Regions from separate parts of the Homo sapiens genome. Here region 2 is linked to region 1. The links are contacts of gene promoters, found by promoter capture Hi-C in blood cells and fetal thymus (Javierre and others, 2016). All regions are on one chromosome and are shown on one strand. Each heading gives the region's core, a stretch centred on a gene start or on the middle of the fragment in contact. The rest is flanking DNA. Distances are from core to core; before and after follow the strand shown. Region 1 holds the start of RDH5 (retinol dehydrogenase 5). Region 2 holds the start of CDK4 (cyclin dependent kinase 4).

Evidence for each region. Contacts are between HindIII fragments. The CHiCAGO score rates a contact against its expected background, and 5 or more counts as called.
Region 2: a contact is called between the fragment with the promoter of CDK4 here and a fragment that was not itself captured in region 1, in 1 of 17 cell types (total CD4 T cells). The highest score is 6.6, in total CD4 T cells.

What each region holds. Positions count from the first base shown.
Region 1 is chr12:55,719,628-55,723,716 of GRCh38, forward strand. RDH5 (retinol dehydrogenase 5) reads left to right here and starts at 766. Exons shown (of 5, transcript NM_002905.5): 1 at 766-890; 2 at 1,526-1,867; 3 at 2,062-2,320. The coding sequence starts at 1,558. BLOC1S1-RDH5 (BLOC1S1-RDH5 readthrough) reads left to right here. Exons shown (of 6, transcript NR_037658.1): 4 at 2,062-2,320. BLOC1S1 (biogenesis of lysosomal organelles complex 1 subunit 1) reads left to right here. Exons shown (of 4, transcript NM_001487.4): 4 at 1-76. It also overlaps a transcript of CD63 not described here. RefSeq lists an enhancer at 1,201-1,829. The HindIII fragment of the contact is 1,627 bases long and covers 849-2,475 here.
Region 2 is chr12:57,751,060-57,755,303 of GRCh38, forward strand. CDK4 (cyclin dependent kinase 4) reads right to left here and starts at 1,251. Exons shown (of 8, transcript NM_000075.4): 1 at 1,116-1,251; 2 at 441-677; 3 at 148-283; 4 at 1-31. The coding sequence starts at 658. MARCHF9 (membrane associated ring-CH-type finger 9) reads left to right here and starts at 4,044. Exons shown (of 4, transcript NM_138396.6): 1 at 4,044-4,244. RefSeq lists silencers at 401-540, 1,271-1,350, 1,581-1,700, 3,807-4,046 and an enhancer at 877-1,610. The HindIII fragment of the contact is 8,675 bases long and covers 1-4,244 here.

The DNA of each region.
Region 1 (4,089 bases), core at 412-2,911:
ACCCTATCCCTCCTACCTCACCCGCAGGGGGAAGGAGGGAGGCTGACAAGCCTTGAATAAAACACAAGCCTCCGTTTCTCTGTGGTGTGTTTCAGAGAGCTACTAGCTCCAGTGTCGGGGGTGGGAGTGGAAGGTTCAAAGGTGGTTTCCCTGAGGGACAGGTACCTTTTGGGGAGAGGGTGGAACTAGCTTCCTCTTACTATCCCAACTCTCTTCTCCTCCATGGCCCTTGTGCAGGTGTCTGTTAGGCAAGCAGAGGGTGGGAGTTCCCATCCCTCCTGAGAGAAGGTCCTAGTAGCCCTGCCCCAAGCTTCCTAATTCAGGACTTGTTTCCTACAGAAGAGAAACAAGGCAAGGTACAGGCCTGGTCCCCAGCTCTGGCTTTCTGCCTCTCCACGTGCTCATGGCCTCTCCCAGGCTAACTCTAAGCAGTGTCATGAGTCTGAGCCAGGTGGGAGATTAATTCCTGGGGGCACTTCAGGGCTGAGAAGGGGGAGGAATGACAGGTCCAGTAACCGTTACCAACAGAGCAGTGCAGCTGCCATCCTTGACAGCTCCCTCCTCCTTGGAGACCATGACATAGATGGTCAGGAACCCAGGCTGAGAAAGACAGCCAAGGGGTGGGGGGAGCCTAGGCAAATCTGGCCTCTGCCAAGTCCTGGCTTCAGCCAGGCAAGCTCCAGCCTCCCTGGCTCCTCCTCCTCCTCAGTCCTATCCCCACCCTGTCACACATACACTTAATACGCCTGGCATCCAAGTCCACCCACTCCGGACTTTGGCCTTAGCAGTAGTTAGTGTGGGAGGCTGGGAAGACTGGGAGCAGTCTCTTAAACAAAAGCAAAAGAATAAGCTTCGGGCGCTGTAGTACCTGCCAGCTTTCGCCACAGGAGGTAAGTGGATACTGGGAGCTGGGGGAACTGAGAAGACTAGCCAGATATTACATGTATTGCCAACTCAAAACTTTCAGCTTTTAACATGCTTCCTCACACATTATCCCCTTTGATCCTCCACAACTCTGAGGTGGACCTGGTGGGTCTTAGCCCCACTTGGTAGATGAGAAAATAGGTTGAGAGAGACAGTGAGATGCTCAGTATCACACAGCAAACCTCTTGGCCCTATACATCATTCCAAACACAAGACCCAGGTTGCATATAGAAGGTTCAGTGTCCCTGGTTTAGAAGGAGAGGTGGTGTGAGGCAAGCAAGAAGATGCCTCTGCTGCACTCCAGCCTGGGCGACAGAGTGAGACTCCATCTCAAAAAAAAAAAAAAAAAAAAAAAGATGCCTCTGCTCCATACAGCAGGTCTGTACACAGGATCTGGCTCATGTGGTTTTAGTTAAGTTAGCCACAAATACAGGGTCTGCCCACATCTTTGCTTTGAACAGATGAGCCATGGTTGGCCAATTATCTGCCAACCAGATAATTTCTCAATATGCTCACACCAGATGCTTCCAGCTAGGGAGGGTATTAGGGGAAAGGGCTTGAGGGCCACAGTAAACTGGACAAGTTTTTCTGCCCAGCCTAGGCTGCCACCTGTAGGTCACTTGGGCTCCAGCTATGTGGCTGCCTCTTCTGCTGGGTGCCTTACTCTGGGCAGTGCTGTGGTTGCTCAGGGACCGGCAGAGCCTGCCCGCCAGCAATGCCTTTGTCTTCATCACCGGCTGTGACTCAGGCTTTGGGCGCCTTCTGGCACTGCAGCTGGACCAGAGAGGCTTCCGAGTCCTGGCCAGCTGCCTGACCCCCTCCGGGGCCGAGGACCTGCAGCGGGTGGCCTCCTCCCGCCTCCACACCACCCTGTTGGATATCACTGATCCCCAGAGCGTCCAGCAGGCAGCCAAGTGGGTGGAGATGCACGTTAAGGAAGCAGGTAAGTATGGTAGACCACCAGGAATATGGTGTGGGGTGTCCTGATCCCCACAGTCACCCCAGGAGTCACCTGCAAGGGCTGTGGTAAGCTAAAGGGACAATTTGAGGAGAAGCAGTTTTCAGATGCTCCCAGGAAGAAGAGGGAGCTGTGGGAGTGCCTCACCTACCCCCAGCATCCTTTTCATCTCCCCACAGGGCTTTTTGGTCTGGTGAATAATGCTGGTGTGGCTGGTATCATCGGACCCACACCATGGCTGACCCGGGACGATTTCCAGCGGGTGCTGAATGTGAACACAATGGGTCCCATCGGGGTCACCCTTGCCCTGCTGCCTCTGCTGCAGCAAGCCCGGGGCCGGGTGATCAACATCACCAGCGTCCTGGGTCGCCTGGCAGCCAATGGTGGGGGCTACTGTGTCTCCAAATTTGGCCTGGAGGCCTTCTCTGACAGCCTGAGGTGAGGGGTACAGGGCTCTGGGTTCCAGGACTAACAGCAGCCCACTCAACAAACGTGGGCCAGCAGAGGTGGTTAAGATACAGCACATTGGAATAGTTAAGAAGAGACAGTTTAGGGCTAGACTTCATGGGTTCAATGAAGTCTACCCTTATGTAAGCTTTGTGACCATAAGTAGATTACTTCTCTTTACCCATTTTTAACGTGTTTGTTTTTTGTTTTTTGAGATGGAGTCTTGCTCTGTCGCCAGGCTGGAGTGCAGTGGCGCGATCTTGGCTCACCACAATTTCCACCCCCGGGGTTCAAGCGATTCTCCTGCCTCAGCCTCCCGAGTAGCTGGGACTACAGGCATGCGCCACCATGCCTGGCTTATTTTTGTATTTTTAGTAGAGACAGGGTTTCACTATGTTGGCCAGGTTGGTCTCAAACTCCTGACCTCGTGATCCGCCCACCTCAGCCTCCCAAAGTGCTGGGATTACAGGTGTGAGCCACCACGCCCGGCCTTGCCTCTCGTCTTTAAACAATAAGGTTCAAAGTTCCGTGGGAGCACAAAGGAGACATGATGAGGACAACGGGAGTAGGGCCTGAGTTTTTTTTTGTTTTTTTTTTTTTAAGCGTTTTGCTCTTGTTGCCTAGGCTGGAGTGCAATGGCGAGATCTCAGCTCACTGCAACCCCTGCCTCTCAGGTTCATGTGATTCTCCTGCCTCAGCCTCCCGATTAGCTGGGCTTACAGGCACGTGCCACCACTCCCAGCTAATTTTTTTGTATTTTTAGTAGAGATGGAGTTATACCATGTTGGCCAGGCTGGTTTTGAACTCCTGACCTCAGGTGATCCACCCGACCCGGCCTCCCAAAGTGCTGGGATTACAGGCATGAGCCACCACACACGGCCCAAGGCCTGAGTTCTTAGCAGGAGTATAAGGCGCCTAAGCTTAGTCTACCTTCTAAGGAAGCCTGCGTTTGTCACCATCACTCAGCAAATAACCTGAATGTCTCCTGTCTCTCAGCCTTAATTTTTCAGGCAGCATCATGGGACACATACTTTTAGTTTTGAGACAAGGCCTTGCTCTCACCCAGGGTGGAGTGCAGTGGTGCAGTCACGGCCCACTGAACTTCAAACTCCTAGGCTCAAGCAGCTCAAGCGATATCCGCCTCAGCCTCCTGAGTAGCTGAGACCACAGGCGCGTGCCAGCATGCCTGGCTAGTATTTTTTTACAGATGGGGTCTTGCTGTGGTGACCAGACTTGTCTCCAACTCCCGGCCTCAAGCGATGCTTCCGCCTGGGCCTCCCAAAGTGTTGGGATTATAGGTGTGAGCCACTGCATACTGGAACACATACTTTATACTTGAATTTTTTTTTATCCCCTTCCCTCCTGCTCCTTACCTATACTTGGATTTCTACATCTGTGCCAGGGCAGTGGGATGTATCCCCACTTTCCCCATCAGCTTACCCTCCAGCAAATACGAGACTATACCCTTCAATATCCAGCACTCAGGGCTCAACCATGTGTTTTGGGAGCAAGGGAATGGGGTTCCTCTAGGTCAGGAATCGGCAAACTCAGTACTCAAGCCAGATCTGGCCAGCTGCCTACAAGCTGATAATGGTTTTTTTTATTTTTAAATGGTTACATTGTAAACTGTTATATAAGTACCTGATAATATCATTAATTTTGTTTCTTGGCCTGCCATGCTTAAAATATTAACTCTCTGGCCCTTTAAGAAAAAAACGTGCTGACCCCTGCTCTAGATCAAAGAAAACAAACCTCAAAAA
Region 2 (4,244 bases), core at 1-2,500, 2.0 Mb after region 1:
CTAGGCCTCTTAGAAACTGGCGCATCAGATCCTAGTTTCAAAGGGGAGGTACAGATGCACTGGAAACTAGGCACCATACCTGAAATCCCAGAAGGTTCTACTACAAAGGTCCCAATCCACCTCTCAATGCCTACCAACCCCACTCACCTTGATCGTTTCGGCTGGCAAGCCTGGTGGGGGTGCCTTGTCCAGATATGTCCTTAGGTCCTGGTCTACATGCTCAAACACCAGGGTTACCTTGATCTCCCGGTCAGTTCGGGATGTGGCACAGACGTCCATCAGCCTGACCAGAGTAAATGCTCACTTTTCAATCCCCTTTAACCCAACATGGCCTCTCATTATTTCCTCAGGGTCCCCACTTCTCTACAGATCATCACACCCCACCTATAGGCTGTCTTTTCCCTTTACTCCCCACGCCCAACCCTCCACCACCTTCTCACCGGACAACATTGGGATGCTCAAAAGCCTCCAGTCGCCTCAGTAAAGCCACCTCACGAACTGTGCTGATGGGAAGGCCTCCTCCACCTCCTCCTCCATTGGGGACTCTCACACTCTTGAGGGCCACAAAGTGGCCACTGTGGGGATCACGGGCCTTGTACACTGTCCCATAGGCACCGACACCAATTTCAGCCACTGGCTCATATCGAGAGGTAGCCATTCTCAGATCAAGGGAGACCCTACAATCACAGACTCCTATCACCAAAAGTCGCTTACAGAGTTAGGATGGTATGAGCCTGCAGCAACAAAGGGACTCCCAAAAAAAAAGCGCAAAGAACACCACCAGCATCCCATCCCCCGCTCCCAGTCTTCCTTGGGGCCGGCCCCAGAGATAACACAATGACTCAATACCAACCCCTCCAGCCACGTGAGGCCCTGCAATAGAAAACGCTTTTTCCTTTGGGACAATCGCGCCCCGCACAAAGATCACACATGACACATGCCTTGCATCGAAGATCCTACACCTCAGTCCCTAAAATTATACTTTCCCATGACCACAAAGGCCCCACTTCCCGCCCTTGAGCGACCCTTCCATAACCAGCTCGCGAAACGAACGCGTGGAAAGCTGTGAGGGGGGCGGGCACTGGTTCTCATTCCTGGGAAGGGACTGCACTTACCTCACGCCAGCCCGGGGTGCTGTGGGGGCGGCCCGTTATCGGGGCCCCGGAGCCGGTTCCTACGGCCCCATACACCCGAGCTCGGTCCGGAGCAGCTGGACGCAGAGGGCCCGACCATAGACACAGGCCGCAAGCTAGAGAGGCCCCCTCACCCCCACCCTCACCATGTGACCAGCTGCCAAAGAGGCGCGCGGAAACTGGGAGGGCGGGGCGAACGCCGGACGTTCTGGGCACGTGACCGCCACCCATGCGCTGAGGGGCGGACAGGAGGTGCTTCGACTGGGAGGAGGGCGAAGAGTGTAAGGGGGCGGAGGGGCGATGGCAGCCACGTGATCTGTTGCTATCACACGTGACCGCTTGACATTGCTCTGAGGAGCAGAGGTGTGGCTACGCGGCGGGCACGTGACTGGCTGCCACAACCCCCGCTGCAGGGGGGGAGCGGTGAGGGGGACAAGAGAGGGTGGAGCCCGAGGCGGTGCCATGGCAACCTAGGCCACCCAGAGCCCAACTCCCGGCTGAAGGATTGTCTCACTACCGGTCTGAAGGCTGAACTCCAGTCTCACTACCGGTCTTTCAGCCTGTCTGCATTGGGGAGGGGGTGGGAGTTGGGGTACCAGAGGTGATGCTGTCACCTTTTCGCTCCACCATGAGAAAACATACTCTCATTTGTGTCATTGTTTCATTCATTAATTCTACAACATTTTACTGAGTGCTTGCTTCCAGTGTGTATGTGGGTTTTTATTTTGTTTTTGGTGTCTGTCACTGGCCCTTTAAAGTAGTGGTACGACTATCTATAAAGATGTAGCCAACAATGGGGTCTTCTACAATAGGGAGTAAACAATGCCCATTTGAGGGCAAAACTACGATTAAAGGATGACGGAAGGCAGATTAATACAGTAATCCAACAGGCTCAGTGACAAGGTAATCCTCTCACTTTTCCAACTTCCAAACCTCCCTGGGAGTGTTAATGCAAAGACCTGAGGCCATCTGGCAGAGAAGTTATTGATGAGCAGGAGACAGGAATACTTGACCTTTTAAGTTTTTTTTTTTTTTCCAGTAGGAAGGTTCTATGATTATGTGATATTTGTATGTGTGCATATATGCTTCTATGTATATATGTATGTATATGATATTATTTATCACATCATATATAAGACGGATACAGGATTGCACATGTGCAAGAAAGTTACCACCACACCCCCTGCACCCTCCAGACCACCACAATGAATGAAAATGACATGCCCCCTTCTGCAAACCTTGTGACTACTCATTTGGAGTTATTGTGCTTCCCTCTTTTTCCCTAGTGCCGCTTTCTTAGCACTTAGCACTGTCCAGAACACACTTGTTCCCAAATGGCCTCTGCCCAGACACCTAGGTAGACACAAGTAGATTTCTCCTACTTTGTTTTATTGGCTCCAAGGTCTTTATCTCCCAGCCCTTTGGGGGTATGGGAGTAAAGGAGGAAAGCGGTTAGTGTCTCATTTGTGAGAATTTGTCTAAAATCTAAAGCCATTTTATTACCCTATTTGCCACTCCTTCCACTCTAACTTCTGTTTTCCTTAACCATCTGGCTGAGAATATAAGAGTTCAAACTAGAAGATGAATATAAACCATGACTTAGAGCAAAATAGAATACATATTAATACAGATGCCTCCTCTTTCCATCCTGATACTTGTAGCCCTGGGCCCCTCCTGGCAAGGGCAGCTGGAACACTAGTAAGAAAAACCTCAAGGACTGAACTGACTAAGGGGCTCAAGAGGTGAATGTTTTATTGGCTACCTTGCTAGGGGTGGGTGCTTTGTAAGCCTTCTGGAAGGCTAAGATAATTGTCTGTGAGTTTTTCAAACTCCCTTCCCACACCAGCATTCCCCACTTCAGCCTCACCTTCCACATAAGACCTTCACAGCTTACTGTCTTTGCAACAGAAGACGTCCTCTCTGTCTGCTTGGGTCCCAGCCCCTTTTTCTGATTCATTCATTAGTCCATCCAAAACATTTGAATACTTCATGGGAACATTACTGTCTCTCCATCACTTTCTATTGAGGAACCTTAATTTGGCAGTCTGTCCCAGGCTCTGTCCCCTCCCTTCTTCTGTTAATTACTCTTTCACTAATTAAATTTTTTCCCAGTATGTTTGACCCAATGAGCTCCCCTGGAATCCCTTTTCCCTCAGCTTTGCAAAGGGGAGGAGAGGGAGAATGTAAGTGTAAGAAAGAAAAAAATGTGATGGGGGTAGAACTTGGCCTCAGAGGGAAGTCTCCATAAAAGGAAAGGGGTAAGTGTGTGTATTGTTCACTTCAGTGTAGTGGAGGTGAGGGCAGGAGAGTACCAGGAAAGACACTCCCATCCCTTTAGCACGCCTACCTCCCCTGCTCCCTCCCTCACCTCCTTCACACATTACAATCACAGGCTTCTGTTTCTCAGACAATCCGATTCCATTCCTTACACACCTCTCTTTCCCAGTCCCCATCGATCACACTTTTCAGCCCTTTGGGTAAAGTGTATATTGCTTGAGTCCCACCCCTGCCCATGTACCTCCCTCACACCTCCGACACTTGCACAGCTCTTTCTTTGCACATTCCCATTTTGCACAAGCCTCACCCTCCCTGGTACACCTGCGTCATTTAACCACTCACCTTCCATGCTCACCCGCTCATCCCCCACTCCCAGACACACACCTAGTCAACTTGTGTGCACACTCCCCTTCCTTGGCCACTCCCCTTCCTCCACCCTCCTCGGGATCCCACACTTGCCCCCGCCCCTGGGACACCTGCTCGTGCGGGGCAGGGCGGGGATGCGCAGCCGCGGCCCCTTCTCCTCTCCCCCTCCCCGCCCCGCCCCTCCCTCCATCCTTCACCCGCTCCCCGGCGCCCGCCCCGCCCGCCCGCCACTCCGGGGGGGTCTCCGCCGCCGCCGCCGCCGGAAGGAGCCGCCATTTGCCACCGCCGAGCGCACGGGCCGAGCCAAGCCTGATCCCGGAGCCGGAGGGGGACTGGGACCGAGAGAACGGCGATGGGGGGCGGCCCCGCCGCAGGAGGACCCGGGCGCGTAACCCCGGGGGCCCGGCCCGCTCCAGACCCAGACCCGCGGGGTGCGGCACCCTGAGCCCCCCTCCCCGCCCCCTGCCC